3 separate regions of the Homo sapiens genome follow, and regions 1 and 2 are each linked to region 3. Evidence: promoter capture Hi-C in 16 types of primary human blood cells and fetal thymus (Javierre and others, 2016). All regions are on one chromosome and are shown on one strand. The core of a region is centred on a gene start or on the middle of the fragment in contact, and the rest is flanking DNA. Distances in the headings are between cores, read along the strand shown.

Evidence for each region. The method cuts DNA at HindIII sites, captures the fragments that hold promoters and counts their contacts. A CHiCAGO score of 5 or more calls a contact.
Region 1: a contact is called between a fragment that was not itself captured here and the fragment with the promoter of FRRS1L in region 3, in 1 of 17 cell types (erythroblasts). The highest score is 9.0, in erythroblasts.
Region 2: a fragment that was not itself captured here is called in contact with the fragment with the promoter of FRRS1L in region 3 in 1 of 17 cell types (erythroblasts); the score reaches 5.5 in erythroblasts.

The regions. Positions count from the first base shown.
Region 1 is chr9:109,098,253-109,100,952 of GRCh38, reverse strand. The region is part of intron 3 of TMEM245 (transmembrane protein 245); the gene reads left to right. Among named protein-coding and RNA genes, the nearest start is that of TMEM245, 20 kb to the left of the region's middle. The HindIII fragment of the contact is 2,592 bases long and covers 67-2,658 here.
Region 2 is chr9:109,080,062-109,082,803 of GRCh38, reverse strand. It overlaps TMEM245 (transmembrane protein 245), which reads left to right. Exons shown (of 18, transcript NM_032012.4): 8 at 1,861-1,965. Among named protein-coding and RNA genes, the nearest start is that of MIR32, 35 kb to the right of the region's middle. The HindIII fragment of the contact is 656 bases long and covers 1,069-1,724 here.
Region 3 is chr9:109,165,926-109,168,625 of GRCh38, reverse strand. FRRS1L (ferric chelate reductase 1 like) reads left to right here and starts at 1,377. Exons shown (of 5, transcript NM_014334.4): 1 at 1,377-1,725. The coding sequence starts at 1,488. The HindIII fragment of the contact is 4,411 bases long and covers 1,125-2,700 here.

The DNA of each region.
Region 1 (2,700 bases), core at 113-2,612, 68 kb after region 3:
CAAGGGTCTTACTCAGTGGTTTTCTCTTAGACCTGAGAAGTTCTAACATAGTATTTCCCAAAAGCTTAAGATAATAAGGGAAAAATATTTAAGTGCCTGTCATGAGCCAAGAACTTTCAAGTGCTTTTAAATGTGCTATCTTTTTAAATCCACAAGCAAACAAAACAGAACTCAAACAAATAAATCTTTGTAAGATAGATGGTATCTTCATTTACAGATGAAGATACTTCTAGAGATTAACTGACTAGCCTGCAGTCACACAGGTGACTAGTGGAGCTAAGATTTAAACTTAGGTCCTTGGCCAGGCATAATGGCTCATGCTATAATTCCAGCATTTTATGAGGCCAAGGCGGGAGGATTGCTTGAGCCCAGGAGTTCAAGACTAACCTTGCCTGGTCAAGATAGTGAGACCCTGTCTCTACAGAAAATAAATAAATACATAAAAATAAAATAAAATAAAAATTAGCTGGGTGTGGTAGTGTGCATCTATAGTCCCAGCTACTGGGAGGGTTGAAGATGGAGGATTGTTTGAGCCCAGGAGGTCAAGGCTGCAGTGAGTAGTAATCATGCCACTGTACTCCAGCCTGGGCTACAGAGGTGAGACCCTGTCTTAAAAGTAATAATAATGATAATAAATAAATAAACATAGGTTCTTGACCCTAAGCCCAGCGTTCTTTCCCCTCCCCAGGCTCTTTGAGTAAGTGTCAGTCATCCTGAAAAAGTATTGAGTACTCATCCTTCTTGCATCAGTTGTAGTTGTCAGCTCCTTCAGTTTTCCATATTGGTCCTGTTGACTTAACACAACTACATGACCTAGCTTCCTTGCCTCCTAGATCCCAGAAACCTTACTTAGTAGAAACCTTATGGCTTAGTCTGTTTTGTCCTGCTGTGACAGAGTAACACAGACTTGGAAACTTACAATGAACAGAAATTTATTGGCTCACAGTTCTGGAGGCTGAGAAGGCCAATGTCAAGGTGCTGGCATCTGGTGAGGATCTTCTTGCTGTATCATCACGTGGTACAAGGGCGAGCAAGAGATGGCTGGGGCTGAACTCACCCTTTTATAATGACATTAATCCTACCCATGAGGGCTGAGCCCTGATGGCCTAATCACCTCTTAAAGGTCCCACCTGTTAATACTGTGGTAACGGCAATTAAATTTAACATAAGTTTTGGAGCACAAACACTCAAACCATAGCACCTGGAATCCACGTTCAGTATGTTCCCTTGGCGTCTGAGGAAAGAGGTACACTAGCATTGTTATCTCCTATAAGTAAGGCTGTGTTAGACTCTTTAAAAATACTCTTAGTTTTTTTTAAGCAGTCTAGTGAGATTGGTGTTATGCTTATTTTACAAATGAAGAAACTTAGGCTCAGAGAGCCATTTTCTCTGAGTATAAGAAATTTCTTCAAAAGTTAGTGAAACAATCATCAGATATATCTATAATAGCCTGGATACCCAGCCTGAGAAGTACCAGCAAGTACAGCTGAGTGCTGTTCCTCCTGGCATTGGTAATTGTTTGTAAATGACTAGAAATGTCTTTGCAGAGATGAATCCTGATAGTTGCCTTACTTGTTTTGGGATAGCATGAGATATGAGTGAACAAGTTTGGTTCAGTCAAGCCCAAATTGGAAAAAGGGAGCAAACCAAATGTTTTACTGCTCCCCTCCCAGTCCCCACTTCTGATACTGCAAGTTAAACAGGCCTAGAGAAAAGTCTACTGGTCCATCTCCAGGCCCTTGTGACGTGATACTAGAAGCCATTGAGAGGGAGTTGTATTTTCCACATTAGTAATGGAAACAGAAGCCTTCTTCAAAGGGAACTTTGCAGGCTGGGGAGGTGTTATTTGGTATGCGGTGCCTGCTTCCAATAAGCATGTTTGGATGTATTTCTGGTAACTGCTGCTATCCCTGTGAAAAAGAATGGAGTGGATCAAGAAGTATCTCCTTATTTAGACTGGATTTAAAGTATATTTACCCATGCTTATTAAAAAAGTTAGTCTGCTCATCGTTGAGTTGTTGTATTAACAGACACTGTCTGACCTGTGGTCTCTTTCTTGTGTGCCGGACTCTGAGTTTCTGCCCCCTGGTGCTAGGCTGCTAATGTCAGTAGCATGCTTGTTTGGATTTGTGTAGATCCCTGTTATTTGGCTTCTGCTTAATGCTGGCCCTGTCTCTGGGTAGATTGATACCTGAAACCTTGGATGTTCTTTCCTTTTTTTTCTTTAGTCCTTGAGTCCCAAGATTATGTTCCCTTGTTTATGTGCCTATTTTTAGCTGTGGCTTTTAAATACAATACCATTCTAATACCACAACTTGGCCAAGATTCTCAGTCCTGGCATTGTTCTGTTCAGTTTATCATCTCCCTGCCTGGACTGTTGTTTTTTGTTTTTTTTTTTGGACTCTGATTCCAGGCCAATTCCTTGTGGTTTTTGAGGTGCTGAAGGGTATCATTGAGACAGAAGTCATTAAAATACAGATCTGTTGGATAAAAGCAGTTTGCCAAATCTTATATTCATAATTTTCAAATACTTTGTTTATTTTCTCTGTGTGCTACTCCTTTCATGCTTTTGTGAAGTCTGAGGTGCTCGAAAAATGTGCTGAGTCATTTGTGTATTAACTAGAAAAATAGTGCAGTTTCCATTGATGTAGCTAAGCTTTACTGCATATTTACTGCATATTTTAGTGCCATTAGCAAGTT
Region 2 (2,742 bases), core at 147-2,646, 86 kb after region 3:
TAAAAAATTGGATATTGTAATGTTAATGTACCTAATATGTTTTTGAATATTCTATGTTTTATATGTTAAAAATACTCAAACATGTTTCTAAGTAGAATATCATTTACATTTAAAAATACATTTCAGGATATGACTTTTCTGAAAAAAAAAAAATAGAGGCTCTACATTATTTTCAGAAATTGTAATTTGTGGATACAAATACAGTCTTAATTCTGAAATTATTTTATTTATGCTTGCTTATTCAAACACATAGTAATTGAATGCTTACCACGTGCTAAGCACTTAGATTTTGGAGATACAAAGAGGAGTGATACAAACCTAGCTCTTTCCCCAGGAAGCTGCCTTGATAACTAGTTTTCAATTGGTTTCTGATTGAAAGTTTTCAGTTTCATTGATTTTAGAATTTAACTTCAGAATATGACATCTGACCTTCCATATCTTAGAAACCTGTTATTCCTTTTTTTTAAGTCTCTGCATTGTCTTTGATGCCTTGGTAGCATGCACTGAAAATTAACTCTTCTGTTTGAAGCTGTAATTGTCAAGATTAAAGATTAACTTTTTATCTTTGAGTTCACTTTAGCATTGATCTCTTAGTGACAGTGCCCTTGATGAAAAACAGATAAGGGGGGCACAAGCTTATAAACGTCAAGTGAAAGTAAATGCTGCAGAACTCATGTTGTTTTTTTAACCAACATTCTTTGCTTTTGGATGTTTAATTCACTGGAGAGCATAAATCAGATCTAAATTAAGAATAACTTATTTAGCAATGCTGTTGCTCACCTTGGGGTTGAGCAGTGCATTGTGGTGTTTCAGCAGTTATTAATCTAGTTAAATGTAGTTTTGAAATGTTAGATGGTAGCTTTGCATGAAAGGAATTCTAGCAATCTATCAAGTATATATTCTGAAAACACAAGTTGTTTAAAATGTAGGATTATTTGTGGTTGTGAAAGATGAAGGAAGTTATAGCAAGATAATGTCAGATAGCATTTAGGGAAAGCACAGTTTTAATAACTGATTAAGAAACAGCTACTACATTGATTATATCAATTATAGTCATGTCATAAAGCTTATGTTTTCAGAAGAATAGAAACTTCAAGTAGAATATCAGATTTTAAAAAGCATTTTATTATGTATTATGAAATATTTCAAACATAAAAAGATGTAAAGACTATCTACCAATGACTCCCCCCTTAATAAAACAAATTAACCTGAAGGCTGTTTTGTGCCCCTCCTTGATTGTGCATTCACCTCCCAACCCCTCGCTCCTTGGGCAACTGTTATCTTTGTTATTTGTCATTGCCTTAACATTAGATTTTTTTATTACTGCTTTTGTAATTCTAATGATATCAAATGGAAAAAATATTTTGAATGCAACTCCTCTTTTAATTTGCTCCAATTTTATCTGTATTTTTTAGTCCATGCCTGTATTATAAGTATTATAAATACTATCTGTATATACTTTTGCTAAAGTCGTGTGTATTTGTTAAACTGATGATACAGCTTCATAAGATTTTAGGTCAGCTAATGGATTGTCAATATTTTGTTTAGAATACTTACCAGGTTATAAATTACAATTTGAAACATAGATATCCTATAGTTTGAGAATTTGAACATAGATATGGATTATGTTGAAATCGACTGCCTTTTTCTTAGCTATGACAGTAATAAACTATATAACAACAGCAGTAATGAGTACTGTGAAGTTTTTAAAGTTGCTTAAAGCTTTTATTGCTTTAATTATTATGCCATAATTTGCTTTGCCATGCTGGAGATCCTGTTTTGTCTTTATGACAATTGAGTATATGTATTTTTAAAGTTCTACTTTAAAGATAAGTAATTCTCTTTTTCGTTTTTGTGCAGATGATCATCTGGTTGGAGAAGATGTTAGATAAAATAATTAGCATTTTCATCATATTTTTGTTAGTGATAGGAACTCTTCTTTTAGCCCTACTCCTGACTGCAAAGGTAGAGTACAGTGATTATTATTCTCATTAATAAACCCTTAATTGTTAGAATTGTAGTCTGGATTAAAAGCTAGCAGAAGGGGCATGGAAAATGTTAACTTGATTTAAAAGTATGTACAATAGCTAAAGGATTTATGATTTGTATATTACTAATTTTGCCATGAATTTGCCTAGTATATTTTCTTTTCAGACCTCTTTTACATGCATTTTTATTTTATCGAAACCCTTGGGAGTAAATACAAATGAAAAAAATGAGATAATGAAGAACAAGTGGCGCTTGTTTTTTTTAGTTTAATAGGAGAATTAGGATCTGGTCTTATGAATTCTAATCTAGTTAGTATTCTTCACTAGATCAGAATTTGCTGATTACCACCTTCCATCCTTGTCTCATTGATCCTTCTGCTGATATATACCATAGCACCTTTATTTCTCGCTTTCCAGGTCCTTCCAGCTTACATTTCCTTTCCCCATTTTCATCTCATCAAAGAAAATTATTCTCTAAAGAACACCTAAAATGTTATCTTTATAGTGATATCTCTTACTATTTTTTTTAGGCTTATCAAGTCTGACAAGATTTCCCCCCCACTTTTATGGTACATTTTAATCTTTATTTTATCTGAACCGTATTGAACTCCACAACCCAGATTTTGGTATGTTCTTTTCAAGGAGTTGGTGAAGCTTATGTGAAATCATGGATACAAAATTTTTTTTATTCCTTTAGTTCCCATAGAGACATGTTGGTAACTATAATTGATAATCTAATTAACCAATTTGCTAA
Region 3 (2,700 bases), core at 128-2,627:
AGCCCAAGGTTTTCATGAATTACACCTCAATTCAGCCATCAGGATTAATATGTTTAAATTCCAGTTGGACAGCCCACTGTTAGCTGATACCTAATAGAAAATACCTGACTTCTAAGTCCCCCATCATGTCTCCCCTGTTTCAACAGCACTACCCTTATCTCTCAGCCAATCAGGCCATAAAGGGTTAAGATCACTAGTTTCCTTTTGAATATTAACATTTCACAATATTGTGTACATGTGTGCATGCCACTTACAGCACTGAACCCTATTGATCCTTACCTCTATGATCTTCCCTAATCTTCATTGCATCATGTCAATGACTAATCATGAGAGATCAGGCAGTCTGACTTCTAGGTCTGCATTTGGGACCTCTATGCTTTTCTGCCTCCATAATTATTTTGTTTATGCAATAAAATAAAATAATAAAATAGGAAAAGCAGGTTAAAATGCTGGCTCTGCAACACCAGCCTGAAAGGAATTGCGTCCGCCTCTCTGATGGAAAACAGCTTAGCAATTCGAATATATCACCCCAACAACCATCATCAAAAGAGAACCCTGGGACCTGCCATAAAGCAAATGCTTGGTGTGAATCAATGGATGGCTGAGTAAATAGCCAAAAGTGAACTGCAAGCAGCAGGAATGGATTTGAGAAAAATCAACAATTCAGCATGGCCCTCAGATACGGTGTGGGCCTTCCAAGGCCTGCGCGTGCTTGCTGCAGGGAAAGAGAGTAAACCAGAAGCCTAGTTTTGAAGGGGAACAGGTTACCTACTGGCACCAGCCTCTGTTGATTACACACCGCAAGAGCCTGGAGAGGAAGCAGGTGAATCCAGTTTTCTCTGTCTCTAAACACCTCAGTTTACCTAGCTCTATTGTGGGGGTCTTGCAATTTCAAGTTCCTTCTGTGATGATCCAAGAAATAATAGGTCTAGCAAGTGCTTTATGTAAACCAAAAAGTGCCGGCACAAGGTTGAGGAGGCAGCACTGACCAGGTGTGTCCAGGGTAAACTCTCTAGAGGAGCGTTTCATAAATTGAACGTGCATTGGGATCTCCTGGGAATTTTGATGAAATGAACATCCCGCTTCATGGGTCTGGAGTGGGGCCTCAGCGATGCTAACAAGCTTCCAGGTGATGCTGATGCTGCCGGTCCGCGGACCACACTCCGGAGTAGCAAGGGGCCAGAAGGGCCAAATCTGCCTGCGTGGAGGGAAGTCGGGGAGATGGGGAGAATGGAAAGAAGGACGGTAGAAGGGAAGCTGCTAGGAAGGAGAGATCGGTGCGGGGAGGAGGGGGGTTCCAAGAAGAAGGGGGAGGCTGCGGTGCTGGAGCGAGGATGCGCAGACCGAGGCAGGGAGGCGGGGGTGCGGGAGGCTCCGCGGCTGCGCGGGCGCGTGCTGGTGGCCTCGGCGGAGGCTCAGTCCCGGCCCGCGCCCGCGGCGCCCCCGCTGCGGCCCGAGCGGCCTGGCTGCGGGATCTGTGCGCACGGATGGCGCGGCCGCCCCGGCAGCACCCGGGGGTCTGGGCGTCGCTGCTCCTGCTGCTACTGACGGGGCCCGCCGCCTGCGCAGCCAGCCCCGCGGACGACGGTGCGGGCCCGGGGGGCCGGGGACCCCGGGGACGCGCGCGGGGGGACACGGGCGCCGACGAGGCGGTGCCGCGCCACGACTCCTCCTACGGCACCTTCGCGGGGGAGTTCTACGACCTGCGCTACCTGTCGGAGGAGGGTGAGGCTGCGGGAGGGCGAGGGGTTGCGGGAGGGGAGACCGGGGGTGGGGGACCGAGGATCGGGGGAACGAGGAGAGGGGGCGAGGGAGGGGGAGGGGGTCGGAAAAGATGTCCGTGGAGGCAGCTCTTGCAGAGGCGAGGCCAGGATGGGGAGCGCAGTGCCCAGGCCTCCGCCGGCCTGGAGGAAAGGCCCAAAGAGCTGTCAATGCCTGCCGCCCGCTTTACAGATGGGGAGAGTGAGGCTGGGAGAGGGAGGGGTCATCCAAGTTCTGCAAGGCTGTGGATAGGGGTGGGTGCTGAGTCTAAGCTCCCCCAGTTCTTAGATCTGGCTTCCACCTTTGCCGCCTGGGGTTGGGTTATAGGGGAGGAGGCCGCCATCTGGCCAGGGCAGCTAGGGGGAAGCAGAAAAACCCCAACCTAAAGAGAGAGGTTGCCTTATTTCCTCCCTGTCTGTATTGACTTAAATTTGCAGTGACCAGCGCCCACCTCGTAGCATTCTGTTCCTGCTCACTGACCCGTCAGAGCTGGGTCACATCAGCCTCCCCACTCCCATCCCTCCTCTTTTATGACGCCACATATGTTATGGTCCCCTAGTGCGAGCCACCATTGTTGTGGCCTGCTGGGCCCGCAGACTGGGAGTTTGTCAGCCAAGGGCCTCCCTGTAGAGCTGCTTCAACGAGCACAAAAGCCAAGCGGATGGTGGTCAGAAGGAATGGAAACTGGCCTCTTTAAGCAACTTTGGGAAGTAGTGACTTTCCTTTTCTTCTGCTAAGAGGGATATCCAACCATCAAGCTGGGGTTTGAAGTGTTGAGTCCCAGGAGCTCATATCTGTTAGTGGATGTGTCTGTTGTTAGGATTAAGTTCAGCTGTATACAACAAGCAAACATTAATAGCTTCAACAAGATAGAAGTTTCTCTCTTACAGAAAGAAAACTAGAAATAGGTAATCCAGAACTGGTCTGGAGGCTCCTTGG